Regions from separate parts of the Homo sapiens genome. Here regions 2 and 3 are each linked to region 1. Evidence: promoter capture Hi-C in human tissues and cell types (Jung and others, 2019). All regions are on one chromosome and are shown on one strand. Each heading gives the region's core, a stretch centred on a gene start or on the middle of the fragment in contact. The rest is flanking DNA. Distances are from core to core; before and after follow the strand shown. Region 1 holds the start of CCT8L2 (chaperonin containing TCP1 subunit 8 like 2). Region 2 has its middle 38 kb from the start of CCT8L2. Region 3 has its middle 63 kb from the start of CCT8L2.

Region 1 (4,644 bases), core at 1,393-3,892:
TGGTGGACAGCGAAGGCTTTGATGAATACATGAAGGAGCTAGGAGGAAATAGCTTTGCAAAAAATGGGCGCAATGGCCAAGCCAGATTGTATCATCACTTGTGATGGCAAAAACCTCACCATAAAAACTGAGAGCACTTTGAAAACAACACAGTTTTCTTGTACCCTGGGAGAGAAGTTTGAAGAAACCACAGCTGATGGCAGAAAAACTCAGACTGTGTGCAACTTTACAGATGGTGCATTGGTTCAGCATCAGGAGTGGGATGGGAAGGAAAGCACAATAACAAGAACATTGAAAGATGGGAAATTAGTGGTGGACTGTGTCATGAACCATGTCGCCTGTACTCGGATCTATGAAAAAGTACAATAAAGATTCCATCATCACTTTGGACAGGAGTTAACTAAGAGAATGACCAAGCTCAGTTCAATGAGCAAATCTCCATACCGTTTCTTTCTTTCTTTTTTTTTTTTCATTACTGTGTTCAATTATCTTTATCACAAACATTTTACATGCAGCTATTTCAAAGTGTGTTGGATTCATTAGGATCATCCCTTTGGTTAATAAATGAATGTGTTTCTGCTTAAAAAAAAAAAAAGAAAGAAAAAAAGAAACATTTCTCAGGCCGGGCACAGTGGCTCACAGACCAGGCACAGTGGCACACGCCTGTAATCCCAGCACTTTTGGGAGGCCGAGGCGGGTGGATCCCCTGAGGTCAGGAGTTTGAGACCAGCCTGACTAACATGGAGAAACCCTGTCTCTACTAAAAACACAAAATTAGCCGGGCATGGTGGCACATGGCTACTCAGTCCCAGCTACTCAGGAGGCTGAGGCAAGAGAATTGCTTGAACCCGGGAGGCAGAGGCTGTGGTGAGCCGAGGGTGAGCCGAGATTGCGCCATTGTACTCCAGCCTGGGCGACAAGAGCGAAACTCCGAAACTCCATGTCCAAACAAAAAAAGAAACATTTCTCTGAGCCAAGATAATGTTGAGGGGGAAATGATCACAGAATAGCATATATGTATCATAATCTTATGTAAAATGGTGTAAATCTATAATTATGTATGCATATAATATGTGCAAAGTAGTAATGTTCATCAAGTTGTAAACAATGGTTATCTCTGGACTAGGATTCCAAATGACCTTTCCCCTATTTTTTTTGAGACAAGTCTCACTCTGTTGCCCTAGCTGGAATGCAGTGGTGCAATCATGGCTCACTGAAGCCTCAACCTCCTGAGCTTAAGCAATCCTCCCGCCTCAGCCTCCCAACGTGCAGGGATTACATGCATGAGCCACCACGCCCAGACTAAATATGTGTTAAACTAAAGCAGAAGCATCATTACCCGAGTAGGCTCTATAGGAGGAAAGAGGAGACAAGTGAGGAAAGGAGAGAGAATGAAAAAAAGAGACTTAAATTGTAAGCATTGAAGGTTAGGATGGGAAGGCGATTCGCATTTAAATCTCAGGACCCCATTTAGGCTTCTACCTCCCTGACCGCTGGGAGGCTGGTTGCTTTTCACCCCTCTGGGTTCACTTCTATTTGTCTGTGAGCTGTCAGCATCCTTCCCCACTTGTCTTGCCCTGCCTCTGCCAGGGAGGCAGAGTTGGGAGTCGTGGCACAGGCATGCACGCTGTGCAGCCTCCCACACCTGCACCCTGAAAGACCAACAGACACCCTAAGAAACCTGATACACAAGCACAAACTGATAAGATACCCAAAAAGTCAAAGGCAGACAGCAAAACATGGCTAATATTACACAGTACTGCAAGAGAAAGTAACACCAAAACAAAACAAAACACAGACATCATCTCTCAGTTCCTTCTCAAATAAAAAAAAAAGGCCAGGTGCAGTGGCTCACACCTGTAATCCCAGCACTTTTGGAGGCCGAGGTGGGCGGATCACTTGAGGCCAGGAGTTTGAGACTAACCTGGCCAACCATGGCCAACATGGTGAAATCCCCCTATCTCTACTAAAAATATAAAAAATTAGCCGGGCGTGGTGGCTGGCACCTGTAATCCCAGCTACTGAGAGGCTGAGGCAGGAGAACTGCTTGAACCTGGGAGGTGGAGGTTGCAGTGAGCTAAGATTGTACCACTGCACTCCAGCCTGGGCAACAGAGTGTGACTCTGTCTCAAAAAAAAAAAAAAAAAAAGGGTGGGTGAGGTGGTGGCTCACACCTGTAGTCCTAGCACTTTGGGAGGCCAAGGTGGAAGGCTCTCTTGAGGCTAGGAATTCGAGACCTGCCTGGACAACAGACAGAAACACTGTCTCTACAAAAAATAAAAAAACTAGCTAGGTGTGGTGGTGTGTGCCTGTAGTCCCAGGTACTTGGGAACCTGAGCAGGAGGACTGCTTGAGACCAGGGAGCTGGGCCTGCAGTGAACCATGGTTATGCCCCTGCACTCCAGATAGGGTGAAATGGGTAGTTTTTCACTTGATCTCCTCCTCATTGTCTCTTACGTTTAAACAAGTCTCAAACCTGGTGCAGAGGTGCATGTACCTCCATTGCTGGACAAGGCCTGACTTTTGCCTGCTGGTAGGGCCTCCTCAGTTCTAACCAGCCTTCTGTGACCTCATTCTCTATCCTGGTTCCATTTTCCACTTTGTGACTTCATCAGTTAAAGATCCCATTTCAGCCACCAAGGTTGAGAGGCCCCAAGACCCAGTTCCTTTACAGAATCAACCCTGGGGTGGCTTTAGGACTGGGCTCTTTGGAGCTCATCCTTGGACCCACAGTGGAGTGCTGGTCCGTGCTGATGTCTTCAGATACCAATCAATGGGCATTTGGCTCCTTGCTTCCACTGACCTCTTGAGTACTTTCAACGATCGGTGTCAGGAGTGCCCCAGCTGCTGTTTCTAGAGCATCTCTGCAACCCACGGTGGCCTCTCCTCTCTCTGCGGGCCATGGACAGCACAGTCCCTTCAGCCCTGGAGCTGCCCCAGCGGCTGGCACTGAACCCAAGGGAGAGCCCGAGGAGTCCAGAAGAGGAGGAGCCCCACCTGCTGAGCAGCTTGGCTGCAGTCCAGACCCTGGCCAGTGTCATCCGGCCTTGCTATGGCCCCCACGGCCGGCAGAAGTTCCTGGTGACCATGAAAGGAGAAACAGTGTGCACGGGGTGTGCCACTGCCATCCTCAGGGCCCTGGAGCTGGAGCACCCAGCAGCATGGCTCCTCCGGGAAGCAGGACAAACCCAGGCAGAGAATAGTGGGGACGGCACAGCCTTCGTGGTTCTGCTGACGGAAGCCTTGCTGGAACAGGCAGAGCAGCTGCTGAAGGCTGGCCTGCCTCGCCCGCAGCTCCGGGAGGCCTACGCCACGGCCACTGCAGAGGTCCTGGCCACACTGCCCTCCCTGGCCATCCAATCTCTGGGGCCTTTGGAAGATCCATCCTGGGCCCTCCATTCTGTGATGAATACCCACACCCTGTCCCCCATGGACCACTTGACCAAGCTGGTGGCCCACGCCTGCTGGGCTATCAAGGAACTAGACGGCAGCTTCAAGCCTGAGCGTGTTGGGGTGTGCGCGCTGCCCGGGGGGACACTGGAGGATTCCTGCCTCCTCCCGGGGTTAGCAATATCTGGGAAGCTCTGTGGGCAAATGGCCACAGTGTTAAGTGGTGCCAGGGTGGCTCTCTTTGCTTGCCCCTTTGGTCCTGCCCATCCAAATGCACCAGCAACGGCCCGTCTTTCTAGTCCTGCTGATCTAGCTCAATTTAGTAAAGGAAGCGATCAATTACTAGAAAAGCAAGTAGGCCAGCTAGCAGCTGCAGGAATTAATGTGGCAGTGGTGTTGGGGGAGGTCGACGAGGAGACCCTCACACTGGCGGACAAGTATGGCATCGTGGTGATTCAAGCTAGGTCTTGGATGGAGATCATTTACCTGAGTGAGGTGTTGGACACACCTCTGCTGCCTCGTCTGCTCCCTCCCCAGAGGCCAGGCAAGTGCCAGAGGGTTTACAGGCAGGAGCTGGGAGATGGTTTGGCTGTGGTATTTGAATGGGAATGTACAGGCACACCTGCCCTCACTGTGGTTCTCAGGGGAGCCACCACCCAGGGGCTGCGGAGTGCAGAGCAGGCCGTCTACCACGGCATTGATGCCTATTTCCAGCTATGTCAAGATCCCAGACTGATTCCAGGAGCTGGGGCCACAGAAATGGCTTTGGCAAAAATGCTTTCTGATAAAGGAAGCAGATTGGAAGGGCCCAGTGGGCCTGCATTCCTAGCATTTGCCTGGGCCCTGAAGTATCTTCCTAAAACTTTGGCAGAGAATGCAGGCTTAGCTGTCTCAGACGTGATGGCAGAAATGAGTGGAGTGCACCAAGGTGGGAACCTCCTAATGGGTGTGGGAACTGAAGGGATAATAAATGTGGCCCAGGAAGGGGTGTGGGACACCCTAATAGTCAAAGCCCAAGGATTTCGAGCAGTGGCTGAGGTGGTGCTACAGCTCGTGACTGTAGATGAAATCGTAGTGGCCAAGAAAAGTCCCACACATCAGGAGATCTGGAATCCTGACTCTAAGAAGACAAAGAAACACCCACCTCCTGTGGAAACAAAAAAAATCCTTGGATTGAATAACTAGTGATACCCTCAATAAAACAGGGATTGCCAAGAAGGGAACAATCACCCCAAAAATGAATGTTTGCCTTTA
Region 2 (4,259 bases), core at 1,680-4,179, 38 kb before region 1:
TAGACTAGAAATGGGCTTCTGACTTGCATATCAACAAAAAATGCAAGGGATAAAAACAAATCAATTAATAGCAAAATACAGACAAATTTACAAAGAAAATATCAAAGTATTTTTAATAAAGAAAAAGATGATAAATAAAACCAAACATACCAGAAATCATAAATACAAACATATTACTCTCATATTGCATATTGAGAAATACTCTCAGATAACTTTGAAATTAAAGGCATTACATGCTATACACGACAGACAAAAACTAAATTTAAATGACAATTCAAAAATAAAGAGATAGAGCCCAGGTGCGGTGGCTCACGCCTGTAATCCCAGCACTTTGGGTGGCCAAGGTGGGTGGATCATGAGGTCAAGAGATTACAGGCGTGAGCCACCGTGCCCAGCCTCTATATTGATTTATTTCTGTCTCACAGTTCACTGATAGCTCCATTCCAGGGTACTGATTTGAATTCAGACTTGGCAGTGCTACAGAATTTAAATATATATATGTATCGTCCAACACCAATATGACATCCTACACTTCACTTTCCGGTTTGAATTACTCACAAACGATGTTTAGTTCTTTACAATTGAATGAAGCACAAACTAAGCATTTGGTGGTTTACTTTATTTCAAATTCAGCTGCAGTTTCTATATACAAATCCCCTTGACCTCATCTCATTTCCTGACACTAAAATCCCTTCATGAGTGCCTTGTTTTTGCCATTATAGGTGTCTTCTCTGCTCTCACACAGGGTCAAGAAACTGCCCCATACAATGTGATGATGGGTGTGGGCTTGCAGTGTTAGCTTCACATGGTGGTAGAGCTCTGGGTGTGAGGAACCCTGCCAGGGCCATTAGCTCTGTTTTTTCCCCGAGGGCCCCACTGCTCCCTGTCCACTGCTACTCGCTTGTTGCTCTGCATAGGGTTTTCTTCCCTTGGTCCACTCTAGTATGTCTCATACACAGGAAATCTGACTTTCCTAAGTATGTGCCTGCTACTAAGGGTGACAAGACAATAACAAGAAGTTTCCTTTTGCCCTGTTCCTTTTTTATCCAATTTAATCAAAAAGTTGAATAAGGGGCCTGCAGGGCCTATAGTGAGGAGGTTTATAAACAGTGTAAAAGACATTCTGTATGGACATGGATGATCCTGAGAGTAAGCACATAATCTTCATCTTTCTCTCTGTTGTTTCTTTCTCTTTCTCTCCCTTTCTCTCTCTCCCTGTGTTTGTGTGTCTAGATAGACAGAAGTATGTATATCTGCATATATATTTCTTTAAATATTTGTGAATATATATTTTATAATTCACATTTCATTGGTGGTTCTATCATAGGTCATTGATGTCAATTCTGTATGCAGGCTAAAGGAATATAAAAGCAGATAGTTGGACACACATGTAATTCTAAACTTACTTTTTGGATCAAACAGCTACAGTTACTCTATAATGTACTATCTGGTTGATATTTAAATATTCATGTGTATATCACTAATTCGAACTAGGTGTATCCTTTTTTTTAGGCGGAGTCTCACTCTCACCAAGGCTGGAGTGCAGTGTTGCCATCTTGGCTCACTGCAACCTCCGCCTCCCAGGTTCAAGCAATTCTCCTTCCTCAGCCTCCTGAGTAGATGGGATTACAGGCATGCACCACCATACCTGGCTAATTTTTGTATTTTCAGTAGAGACAGGGTTTTGCCATGTTGGTCAGGCTGGTCTCAAATTCCTGGCCTCAAGTGATCTAGCCGTCTTGGCCTCCCAAAGTGCTGGGATTACAGATATGAGCCACCATGCCTGGCCAGTGGCATTTATTTCTAACGTAACTGCAGTCTGTAAGGAAACATGCCTCTTACCCCATCTAAATTCTTGATTCCTAAGTCCGTCACTTCTTTACTTTCACCCATCATGGCTGTCTTTCCTGCCCAGAAGATATGACCATGTAGCTGTAGGCCTGAGTCAGGAACTCCCTACAAAATGATTGTGGGTTTGGGTTTGGTTTGGGGCACCAGCCTCACATGGTGGTAGAACACTAGAGGGTGAGGAACCCATTACGGTTTCATGAACCCTGTTCTTTTTGCTGAGTGCTTCACTCCTCCCTGTCACCTGTTACCTCCCCATTGCTCCAAATAGGATTCTCTCTCCCTTTGGCCCACTCTAGTAGTAGGAGAGTCTCATAAATGGAAAACCTCAGAGGTTCCTAAGGGATTGCATACTACTAACTTAGAGTGACAAATATACTAAGAGGAAGAAACATCCCTTTCATGACTTCATCCTCTTTTATCCAATTTGGTCTGAAAAAAAAAAAAAAAAAAAAAAAAGAAGGTTATCTATAGATCCTACAGTAAGAAGATTTAGACATAGTGTCAAAGATACTCTGTATTTCCAAGGATATGCCTGACAGTGAATTTTACAAATATCAACTTCTCTTTCTCTTTGTTTTATGTTTCTGTGTATGTGTATGCATGCGTGTATGTTATGTGTATATATGTATATATATACCTACGTGTATATAAATCTTTGTTTTTAATTCACATTTCATGGGTGGCTCTATCATAGGTTACTACCATCAACTCAATTGGCTGTGGGCTGAGGAATTATAAAAGCATATTATTCAGATACAAACATAATTGGACTTACACTTTTGGTCAAATAGCTGCAGTTACTCTAGACATGAGTCTACCTGCCAAGGAATGCCAAAGATTGCCAGCAACCAGCAAAAGCTAGCAAAGAGGTATCAGATTCTTCCTTATAGCCTTCATAAAAAACCAACCCTACTGACAACCTCAATTTCAGATTTCTAGTCTCTAGGACTATGAGATCATTAATTTTTGTTTAAGCCACTTGGTTTGTGATACTTTGTTAAAGCAGCCCTAGAAACTAATATAGCCCAACCTGGTAGAATCTCATACACAGGCAATCTAACAGTTTTCTAAAAGTTTTGGCTACGAGTCAACTCAGCTAGGAAGAAGAAGTAGACTTCTTGTGATCTATTTATCTTGTATCCAAGTAGACACAAAAAGAAAAGGATGTTACATACAGAAGCTGAAACTACCAGTACTTTAGAAACAGTGTCCAAGAAACTCTATAGTTAACATTTGCGTGTATCTTTATGAACATACACACACACACAACACCTTTCACTGATGACTCCATTATAGGCTAGTGATATCATTTCACTTTCACTGAGGACTCCATCATGGGCTAGTGATATCAGTTCATTTGGGTCAGAGCTAAAGAATTAAACTAAATTGTACATAATCAAATACCATGTGAATTTGTAGGCTTAATTTTTATTCAAATTAGCTACAATAACCCTACAACTAATAAACTAGCTGTTCTAAAAAAACAAAACACAACACATGCAATTTAGCCATTTGGAAACAATAGTGACCATCCCTGCCTGTCTCCATAGACAACAACAGCAACTACCTAGAAGTAGTTACAGTAAAATTAGGAGAGCATTAGGCTGGCTGATGAAAACAGGGAAGGGCTGAAGAGCCATCCTTGGGCCTTCACTCCTCCACCTGCCTCCATCTCCAAAGCCCAGGTTACAAACCAGAGAGATTGTCTCCTCCAATGCTGCTTTGTTCAGGAGCTTCAAGGTGATATAGTTGTTTAATTAAACGAAATTTTCCCTGAGGTTGCCTCTGTACTTGAGTCCTTATGCAACAAACTGCAAGCTAACCTAGTGTGTAAACTAACAGCATAATTATGAATAGAATATACACTTGTAACAGACAGCTGTGTCTCAGTCAATTAGAGCGGCTGAGCTTCAGTCAATTGCGGGTGGCTGACTGATTCAAATAAGACAAAACATCCAGCTGTAATCAGTTGTAAACAACAAAGCTGTTTCTGGACCTCATTTCCATTTTCTGTCCATAATGCTGTCTGGCCACATTGCCAGCTTGCAGTTCTCAGAACTTGTTCTCGTTCTAAAAGCTTCCCAACTAACAAATCATTCTTGCACTATTAAACTCTTAAATTTACCTTGTCTAAAGTTTTTCCTTTTCACAACCCACAGGAGTTGCCTGGTCAGTGTTTCATGGTTCCTGAGACTCTCTACCCTGGGGCACATCACTTCTCTTCATTTTAAACTTACTGACAATGACACAGCTTACGTCCTAGATTTCAGTGCGACTGACTATATAATTCCTGCCCAAACCAGGACACTTTTGAAAGGAAAAAGTGGGTGCTATTAATAATTATGTTGTAAGAACAGCAGCAGACTGAGATTGTCCTTCAGTCCTTCCCCAATACAAATGACAAGACA
Region 3 (4,060 bases), core at 1,054-3,553, 63 kb before region 1:
TAGTGTGATTTGTTTTGCAGTTTTGACTTTGGAACTATGTAAATATTTTATGTAATAATGGATAAGATTGATATTTATTTATTTGTTGAGACAAAGTCTGGCTGTATCACCCAGGCTGGAGTGCAGTGGTGCAATCTCAGCTCACTGCAACCTCCGCCTCCTGGGCTCAAGCCATCCTCCCACCTTGGCCTCCTAAGTAACTGGGACTACAGGCATGCACCACCATGCCCTGCTAATTTTTGTATTTTTTGTAAAGACAGGGCTTCACCATGTTACCCAGGCTGGTCTCGAACTCCTGAACTCAAGCAATCCTCCTGCCTCAGCCTCCCAAAGTGCTAGGATTACAGACGTGAGCCACCATGCCCAGCCTGGGAATTAATTTAAGATGACTTTAAAACATAGTAAATAATTTGACTGTGTCAAATTATGTCAAATCCCCTAGTGGGATAGTGCCTAAGGATTAAAAAATATTACAAAGAAATCTCACTGGGAGTAGCCATGGTGTTAATAACACTTTTGATTTGTTATTTTGGAAGGTAGATACTAATATTGTTAGAAACTAATATGTATAAAATCAAACAAGTTAAATGAAAACCCTTGATTTCTAAACTTGAATTAGATTAGAGGAACATGTTATGTGACACCATGCAAATGCAGTCAGCAAAGTCTGGAATGTGGGGAAATAAATGGCAAGAGAAAAAAAGGGTTGAGGAGCGAACCTATAAATAAACCTTTAGAGACATGTCAACCAAAAGCAAGAGTAGACCTTGTTTAGATCCTAGTTTGAACAAAACCCACTGCATTTTAAAAAATGAGACAGGGAAAATTAAAACACTACCTGGATATTTTATGATATTTAAAGAAATATTGATAACTATTTTTTTTTTTTTTGAGATGGAGTCTCGCTTTGATACCCAGGCTGGAGTGCAGTGGTGCAGTTTTGGCTCACTGCAAGCTCTGCCTCCCGGGTTCACACCATTCTCCTGCCTTAGCCTCCCAAGTAGCCGGGACTACAGGCACCCGCCACCATGCCTAATTTTTTTATATTTTTAGTAGAGACGGGGTTTCACCGTGTTAGCCAGGATGGTCTCGATCGCCTGACCTCGTGATCCGCTCGCCTCGGCCTCCCAAAGTGCCAGGATTACAGGCATGAGCCACTGCGCCTGGCCTGATAACTATTTTTTAAGTGTAACGATTAAGAAAAAGTTCTTGAACACAAAACAGGTGTTCAGGAATTTCTGGACTAGGCACATTGGCTCATGCCTGTAATCCATGCACTTTGGGAGGCTGAGACAGGAGGACCAGTTGAGCCCAGCAAGATCAAGCCCAGGAGTTTAAGACCAGCCTAGGTAACCAATGAGACCCCCATCTCTACAAAAAAACTTTTTTAAATTACCCAGGCATTGCTGGGCACAGTGGCTCACACCTGGAATCCCAGCACTTTGGGAGGCCAAGGCAGGAGGATTGCTTGCTTCCAGGAGTTCAAGACCAGCCTTGACCACATAGCAAGACCCTGTCTCTACAAAAAAATTAAGAATTACCTGAGTGTTGTAGTGTGTGACTACTCAAGAAGCTGGGGGAGGGGGGGGGATTGCTTGAGCCCAGGAGGCCAAGGCTGCAGTGAGTTGTGATCATGCCACTGCACTCCAGCCGGGGCAACAAAGCTAGACCCTGTCTAAAAAAAAAAAAGAATCATAATTTACTATATGTAATTTATACTTCCATTTTTTGAAAAGCAATACCTTCTCATTAGTTTGCCAAGAAAGATGAGAATTTATTCTTTTTTCTATTTGGGGGGTTTTCTTTTTTTTTTGTATTTATTTATTTATTTATTTATTTATTTATTTATTTATTTATTTACTGAGGCAGGGTCTCATTCTGTTGCCCAGGCTGGAGTGCAGTGGCATAATCTCGGCTCACTGCAACCTCTGCCTCCCAGGTTGATCACTTGAGCCCAGCAAGACCAAGTCCAGGAGTTTAAGATCAGCAATTCTCGTGCCTCAGCCTTCCAAGTAGCTGGGATTACAGGTGCGCACCACCGTGCCCAGCTAATTTTTATATTTTTAGTAGAGATGAGGTTTCGCCATGGTGGCCAGGCTGGTCTCAAACTCCTGGCCTCAAGTGAAAATAAACCAGTGCCACTTGCCAAGAGAATTAATTAAATAAATATCAAAGAAAAAACACTTTGAACAGCTAGGAGATGGGACTAAAAAATTAGTATTTGACTTAATAGGCACATCCAAAGAGGTAATTATTCTATTTATATTGTTCCTAATTAGTAATATTATAGCTGTTAGAACAAGTATAAACTTTGAACGTGCTTTTGAACTGTAATACCACAAAGTATTAAAGCAAGATGTTCAGAACTGATCAAGTATATTGCAGCATATAGCTCTTACTACATTACTGCTATGGTGCTAGCAAAATGGTTTGCTGGCACTTGAGTACATAAGACAATACGATGTTAGGCCAGGCGCGGTGGCTCACGCCTATAATCCCAGCACTTTGGAAGGCTGAGGCGGGCGGATCACAAGCTTGCAGTGAGCTGAGATTGTGCTCCTGCACTCCAGCCTGGCAACAAAGCGAGACTCTTGTCTCAAAAAAAAAAAAATTAAATATTTTTTATTTCCTGTTTATTGCATGTTTGAAACTTTTTTCTGTATTTTCTATTTCGGGATGTACGTAACATTGATGCAGGAGTACATTACCTGGGGGTGTAGGCACAAGGTTTTCTTACTAGTGGAATGTGAACCAAAAAGTGTAGAGGCCACAGGGCTAAAGGAGGCCGGCTGAATTAGTGAAAATATTCAAAGCCAGTTTTGTTGTTTTCAGCAGTCAGTAACTGTCAGTAGACGAACATTTACCAGGAAATGTCGGTCTTTTAAACTTCGGGCATGGTTCTTATTTAGTATGTTCATTCTATCATGACATTCAGTGAACATTTATTGAGTGCCCACTGTGTACCAGGGATTAGTATGCACGTTAAATTTATAAGCTTTGTTGATTTCCACCACAAACCCATGGGACCTCATGTTATTCTCACAATTGAGGAAACTGAGATTCCCAGTGTTGAATGAAAGCCACACAGTATCACATGGCCAGTATCATGTGATTGCAGAGTCAGGACTCAAACCCAGCTCTTCACCATCATGCTATACTGATGGCCCTTTCCCAGTTCACAGGGAGAAATGAGGAACAGGGAGAGAATTTTCAAAATATTAGGTTTTCCCATAGAATTTTCTGAAGAACTTTGGTGTATGTTGCCACTTGTTCACTAACAAGTTCTAACAGATGACAGAACAAATGAGGAAGTAGCTAATTAATATTAATGAACAACCCCAGAATTTTTCTGAGTGTTGAATAGACTTGAATATTCAACAGTCTCAAATATTTGACACCATTCAGTGGACACACACTTGACTCGATAAGCTTATTCTACCAAGTTGTTCCTGGTTTATGTGACACAGCTGAACAGATGCCAGTTTCATGGGGGACTGTCAGATATTCTGAAGGGACCTAATCAAGTCAGTACAGTGGGAAGGAGAGAGAAACAGAAGCCTCGTTTGTGAAATACTACTTGAGTTTGTGCATGAAGAATGGATAGGATTTAGACTGAGAAGCTTGGAAAGGGGACAACCACAAACAACTGTAGAGAGGCTGGAACCTGAGCTGTCCTGTAGGCAGCAGGGATGCCTGGAGGCACGTGGAAGCCAGGAGGTGGGGGGCACAGGACACTTGACAATGCAGTGCATAAGCTCAAGTTCAGATGGTTAGAAGAACTTCCGGAAGATGTCAAGGAAAACTGCTTTTATTAAATATCTTAACTTTTGGCAGAATCATTTTGTGTGATATAATGTGATGGGTTTAGTACCACATTACATTTCACATGTTATATTCTGAAATCTGAAACATTTATTTTTTTTTAACCTAAGAATATTCCCTGGGCTTTTGAAGCAATAAAGAAAGCAAGTGAATGGGTAAGAAGAACTGAAGGACAGTACCCATCTATCTGCCCATGGCTTGAACTGGGGAATGACTGGGACTCTGCCACCAAGCAGTT

The links. Contacts are between HindIII fragments. The study calls those that stand out against the background at their distance.
Region 2: a fragment that was not itself captured here is called in contact with the fragment with the promoter of CCT8L2 in region 1 in 6 of the 25 tissues and cell types used here (dorsolateral prefrontal cortex, heart left ventricle, lymphoblastoid cells and 3 more).
Region 3: a contact is called between a fragment that was not itself captured here and the fragment with the promoter of CCT8L2 in region 1, in 9 of the 25 tissues and cell types used here (H1 embryonic stem cells, bladder, dorsolateral prefrontal cortex and 6 more).

What each region holds. Positions count from the first base shown.
Region 1 is chr22:16,590,808-16,595,451 of GRCh38, reverse strand. It overlaps CCT8L2 (chaperonin containing TCP1 subunit 8 like 2), which reads left to right and starts at 2,642. Exons shown (of 1, transcript NM_014406.5): 1 at 2,642-4,644. The coding sequence starts at 2,902. The coding sequence ends at 4,575. It also overlaps the pseudogene FABP5P11. The HindIII fragment of the contact is 16,456 bases long and covers 1-4,644 here.
Region 2 is chr22:16,629,002-16,633,260 of GRCh38, reverse strand. It overlaps the pseudogene TPTEP1. Among named protein-coding and RNA genes, the nearest start is that of CCT8L2, 38 kb to the right of the region's middle. The HindIII fragment of the contact is 8,238 bases long and covers 1-4,259 here.
Region 3 is chr22:16,653,949-16,658,008 of GRCh38, reverse strand. It overlaps the pseudogene PARP4P3 and the pseudogene ANKRD62P1-PARP4P3. Among named protein-coding and RNA genes, the nearest start is that of CCT8L2, 63 kb to the right of the region's middle. RefSeq lists a silencer at 684-884. The HindIII fragment of the contact is 4,221 bases long and covers 193-4,060 here.